Regions from separate parts of the Homo sapiens genome. Here region 2 is linked to region 1. The links are contacts of gene promoters, found by promoter capture Hi-C in human tissues and cell types (Jung and others, 2019). All regions are on one chromosome and are shown on one strand. The core of a region is centred on a gene start or on the middle of the fragment in contact, and the rest is flanking DNA. Distances in the headings are between cores, read along the strand shown. Region 1 holds the start of MARVELD1 (MARVEL domain containing 1). Region 2 overlaps ZDHHC16 (zDHHC palmitoyltransferase 16).

Region 1 (2,700 bases), core at 167-2,666:
CAGGGAAGGAAGTGGCAAGCCAGGAAGTTGGAAATTGGTTGGGGACAAATTGTGAAATAGGCCACACAGAAGAGACAGCTTCTGTCCTGTCTCAGTAGGGGAAGCAGTGTAACAAACATCAGGTCTGTCTTTTAGAAAGATGTCATGACCTGGCTTGGTGGTTCACGCCTGTAATCCCAGCACTTTGGGAGCCAAGGGGGACAGATCACTTGAGGTCAGGAGCTCGAGACCAGCCTGGCCAACATGGCAAAGCCCTGTCTCTACTAAAAAAAATACAAAAATTAGCTGGGTGTGGTGGCACTCGCGACTGTAGTCCCAGCTACTTGGGAGACCGAGGCAGGAGAATCACTTGAGGCCGGGAGGCGGAGGTTGCAGTGAGCAGAGATTGCTCCACTGCCCTCCAACCTGGACGACAGAACAGTACTCTACCCCACCGCCCCCCACCCCCCCCCCCACAAAAAAAAGGAAAAAGAAAAAAGAAAGATGCCATGGGCACAAAGGTTGAGCATGAAGGAGAGAAGAGAGACTGGTGGTAGTTACCAGCTTCCTGGTCTGAACCCAGGTAGGCTTCATTCCTCCTCAGCAAAATGAGGGGAGTTGCGTGTATCTCTGTGGTTGTTTTGAGGGTTAAATGAGAACTCAGGTAAAGCGGTGGCACGGAATAATAATAATGTAAAGCATCGTTAGCCTCCATCACAGGCAGTTCGGCCTAGTAGTTAAGTCCGTGGGCTTTGCTTCCTCTTGGCCCTGGGTTTGTGTCCCAGCCATGTTAGGTAGCGTATTTTGAATGTGGGCAAGACAGAAGGATGGCAAGGAAGGGTTGGATAAAAGAGGGTGTGGACAATAAGCTTGTGCCGAGTGGAACGAGTGGCGGTGCCTCTGGTGGGTGATGGACTCTTACTCCGACATGGGTAACTCGGACAGCTTTGGACAGGACGAGGCGGGCCCTGGCAGGAGACTGCGGATGTCCAGGTGACAGTGGATGCCAGTTCAAAACCAGCACTGCTCTCCTCCCGCGCCCAGGAAGAGCCCAGAGGCCCGGGGTGGGCGCTATGGCAGGAAAGAGGGAAAAGGAGGAGGCAGGGCGGGCAGGGGCGGCCCCAGATGTGGCAAACTTGGCGCAGCAGCGCACGGGCGGACAGGGCGGAAGGCCCGCGTCGGGCTGGGAGATGCGCCCTGCCCTGGCCCGAGGACGAAGGAATCCGAGCTGGGGGCCTGGCGCAGAGGGGAAAGGGGGGCGCCAGGGTGGTGAGCGAGATGGAAAGAGAGATGGCAGGAAGCCGGGAGGAGCGCGCGGGGGAGGAGACAGCCGAGGGGAAGGGGAAGGGAAAGGGGCGGGTGGGAAGGGTGGAGAGCTGGAGACAGAAGGCGAGGAGGGCCGAGGGGAGGAGAGAGGAGAGGAAGGGTGGGGAAAGGAGGAGAGGAAGAGAGGACTAAGAGGGGAGCAAGGCGAGGAGGCCGCGGCGGGCGCAGCGGGCACCTGGGCCGTGCTGCCCCCGCGAGCAAGGCGCCGCCATTCCGCTGCTCGGGGCGCCGCCGCCGCCGCCACCGCGCCCAGGGGCCATGCTCCCGCCGCCCCCGCGCCAGCCGCCGCCCCAGGCGCGTGCGGCCCGCGGCGCGGTGCGCCTGCAGCGGCCCTTCCTGCGCAGCCCGCTGGGCGTGTTGCGGCTGCTGCAGCTGCTGGCCGGCGCTGCCTTCTGGATCACTATCGCCACCAGCAAGTACCAGGGCCCCGTGCACTTCGCGCTCTTCGTGTCCGTGCTCTTCTGGCTGCTCACCCTGGGCCTCTACTTCCTCACGCTGCTGGGCAAGCACGAGCTGGTCCCCGTGCTGGGCTCGCGCTGGCTCATGGTCAACGTGGCGCACGATGTGCTGGCGGCCGCGCTCTACGGCGCCGCCACCGGCATCATGAGCGACCAGATGCAGCGCCACAGCTACTGCAACCTCAAGGATTACCCGCTCCCCTGCGCCTACCACGCCTTCCTGGCGGCCGCCGTCTGCGGCGGCGTCTGCCACGGCCTCTACCTGCTTTCGGCGCTCTATGGCTGCGGGCGTCGCTGCCAGGGCAAGCAGGAGGTGGCGTGAGGCCGCCCGCGCCCGCCGCGGCCCCGATCGGGGCGGGGGAATCCCCGGAGACCAGCCTCCTTAATCCCTTCCCCCGCCGCCGCCCCGCGCGGGTGCGCCCTGGCACCCTCTCCCTGCCCTCCAGCGTTTCCACTGTCGCCCGCGCCCGGGAACCCTGACGCTCAGCTCCCGCCCGACGGCAGCGCCGCCGCCGCCCAGAATCCCAGCCCAGAATCCCGACCGCCGCGCCGGACGCGCCGTCTCCCGGGACAAGCGCAGGCTGCGATCCGAGGGGCTGACACACACTCGCAGACGAGCCGCCCCGAGGCGAAACCTCGCGGTTCCTCTTCCCTTCCCTGCTGAGACTAAGACGTGGACAGGGGCCGCGCAGATCCGGGGGAGGCTCCCAAATTGGAACCAGGCTTCTGGCTGCCCCCTTCCCTCCCGCCCCGTGGTCGGAAGAGCACTCCCTTCCCTGGCCCCTCATCCAGCCTCCGGTGCTGTAAAACGCAGGCGCTGGGCCGCGGGCGGAGCTGAGGACAGGCCTTGGCTGGTCCCAGGATGAGCGACGAGTTTGGTTTTAGCTGGGGATTGTGCTGGCATCCTGCGAAGCTCCTCCCAGCCGGTCTCTCTGTG
Region 2 (2,700 bases), core at 114-2,613, 260 kb before region 1:
ACTACCCACCAGTCTTCGCCCCTCTTTTCTTAGTTCTGTGGCACTTGCCCTGGGTGCCCTAACTGTATGGCATGCTGTTCTCATCAGTCGAGGTGAGACTAGCATCGAAAGGCACATCAACAAGAAGGAGAGACGTCGGCTACAGGCCAAGGGCAGAGTGAGTAGGGTTGAAGGCTCGGGGTGGGTAGGTGGGTAACTGAACTTGCTCTCCTGTAAACAGAGGCCATGGGCAGGGCTGACTAGGGCAAGCATTGTAAAAGGCCAGAACTACTCTATCTGAGCTTTAGCTTAGCCAATTTAGTCTGAAAAATTAGAAGTTCAAAGAAACATGTTTTTCTTGGCTCCAGGTATTTAGGAATCCTTACAACTACGGCTGCTTGGACAACTGGAAGGTATTCCTGGGTGTGGATACAGGAAGGTAATGTAAGACACACAGACTAATGCTGTCCAACAGAACACTGTGATGAGAAAGATGTTCTATGCCTGTGAGCACTTGGAATATGGCTAGTGGCTACTGTGTTAGCACAGTTCTAGACTCTAGGAATAGAGATCATTGTCCATTTGAACCAGAAAGGCTTGAGGCCAATACTGTGTGGTTTTAAGTAACAGATGAGGCTTCAACGTGACTACAGTGGAATCCTAGGAAAGCTGTGCTCAGGAAGGGGCCTCTGGGTGTAGGATATGGTGGCCACCAGTCACCTCTCACTTGGAGAGCAGTGTCTAGAGTTCAAGCCAATAATTTGTGAGATTAAAATAATCTACTTGTCATAGAGGCCCTAAGACAGTAACTGGAGCTAGCTCTCTCAGCCCAAGACAAGGGGAAACAATTTTTCAAATGGCAGTTACTGAGGCGGTAACAATCAGATGAACAGACGTGCCTTCCCTCCTCCCTTTCCCATGTACATGACACTCCTATCACTGTGCTTACAGTGGACCTTTAGAAGTTTAGCTCGAAACCTTAAAAGGCCTTCAAAGGACCAAAAGGTACATTTGTTGGATAAAATTGGGTAGCAGAAATTAGAACTTTTGTTACTTTCATGATTGACACCGAGGTAGCTTCAGGATACCTTGATGTATGCTTGTTAAGGAATGATGATTGGGAAGGACCAAGAATTCTTGAACTCAGAGACATTTCTCTCTTCTCTTCTAGGCACTGGCTTACTCGGGTGCTCTTACCTTCTAGTCACTTGCCCCATGGGAATGGAATGAGCTGGGAGCCCCCTCCCTGGGTGACTGCTCACTCAGCCTCTGTGATGGCAGTGTGAGCTGGACTGTGTCAGCCACGACTCGAGCACTCATTCTGCTCCCTATGTTATTTCAAGGGCCTCCAAGGGCAGCTTTTCTCAGAATCCTTGATCAAAAAGAGCCAGTGGGCCTGCCTTAGGGTACCATGCAGGACAATTCAAGGACCAGCCTTTTTACCACTGCAGAAGAAAGACACAATGTGGAGAAATCTTAGGACTGACATCCCTTTACTCAGGCAAACAGAAGTTCCAACCCCAGACTAGGGGTCAGGCAGCTAGCTACCTACCTTGCCCAGTGCTGACCCGGACCTCCTCCAGGATACAGCACTGGAGTTGGCCACCACCTCTTCTACTTGCTGTCTGAAAAAACACCTGACTAGTACAGCTGAGATCTTGGCTTCTCAACAGGGCAAAGATACCAGGCCTGCTGCTGAGGTCACTGCCACTTCTCACATGCTGCTTAAGGGAGCACAAATAAAGGTATTCGATTTTTAAAGATATGTAGCTTCTCACTCTCTGCCTCACGATAGGGCAGGGAAGGGGAAAGTCAGGGTCAAGACCTAGTGAGTAGGTGTTCTGGTCATGCTTCCTACATTTTTTTTTTTTTTGGAGATGGAGTCTCACTCTGTCTCTCAGGCTGTAATGCAGTGGCGCGATCTTGACTCACTGCAACCTCCGCCTCCCAGTTTCAAGTGATTTTTTTTTTTTTTTTTTTTTGAGACGGAGTCTCGCTCTATATCACCCAGGCTGGAGTGCAGTGGTGTGATCTCGGCTCACTGCAAGCTCCGCCTCCCGGGTTCACGCCATTCTCCTGCCTCAGCCTCCCGAGTAGCTGGGACTACAGGCGCCCGCCACCACACCCGGCTAATTTTTGTATTTTTAGTAGAGACGGGGTTTCACTGTGTTAGCCAGGAGGTCTCGATGTCATGACCTTGTGATCCATCCGCCTCGGCCTCCCAAAGTGCTGGGATTACAAGCTTTACAGGCGTGAGCCACCGCGCCCGGCTCAAGTGATTCTTGTGTCTCAGCCTCCCAAGTAGCTGTGATTAAAGGCGTATGCCACCACACCTGGCTAATTTTTGTATTTTTAGTGGAGATGGGGTTTCACCATGTTGGCCAGTCTGGTCTTGAACTCCTGACCTCCACTGATCCATGCGCCTCGGCCTCCCAAAATGCTGGGATTACAGGCGTCAGCCACCATGCCCAGCTTAATTTTTTTTTTTTTTTAATTATTTGTAGAGATGGGTTCTTGCTATACTGCCAGGGCTAGTCTCAAACTCCTAGCCTCAAGTGATCCGCCTGCCTCAGCCTCCTGAAGTGTTGGGGTTACAGGCATGTGCTACTGTCCTGGTTACCCTGAAAAATTTTTGGCCAATCCCTGTCATTGTTATTCCAGTGATGCCTCTGGTTATATGAGGCATATGTGGGGTGGGGGAAATATCTGACAGCCCCATTA

Evidence for each region. Contacts are between HindIII fragments. The study calls those that stand out against the background at their distance.
Region 2: a contact is called between a fragment that was not itself captured here and the fragment with the promoter of MARVELD1 in region 1, in 1 of the 25 tissues and cell types used here (hippocampus).

Annotation. Positions count from the first base shown.
Region 1 is chr10:97,712,314-97,715,013 of GRCh38, forward strand. MARVELD1 (MARVEL domain containing 1) reads left to right here and starts at 1,417. Exons shown (of 2, transcript NM_031484.4): 1 at 1,417-2,700. The coding sequence starts at 1,564. The coding sequence ends at 2,085. RefSeq lists an enhancer at 1,729-1,778 and a silencer at 2,089-2,308. The HindIII fragment of the contact is 16,034 bases long and covers 1-2,700 here.
Region 2 is chr10:97,455,627-97,458,326 of GRCh38, forward strand. ZDHHC16 (zDHHC palmitoyltransferase 16) reads left to right here. Exons shown (of 12, transcript NM_198046.3): 10 at 34-157; 11 at 348-418; 12 at 1,151-1,744. The coding sequence ends at 1,265. It overlaps MMS19 (MMS19 cytosolic iron-sulfur assembly component), which reads right to left. Exons shown (of 31, transcript NM_022362.5): 31 at 2,698-2,700. Among named protein-coding and RNA genes, the nearest start is that of ZDHHC16, 11 kb to the left of the region's middle. The HindIII fragment of the contact is 5,805 bases long and covers 1-2,700 here.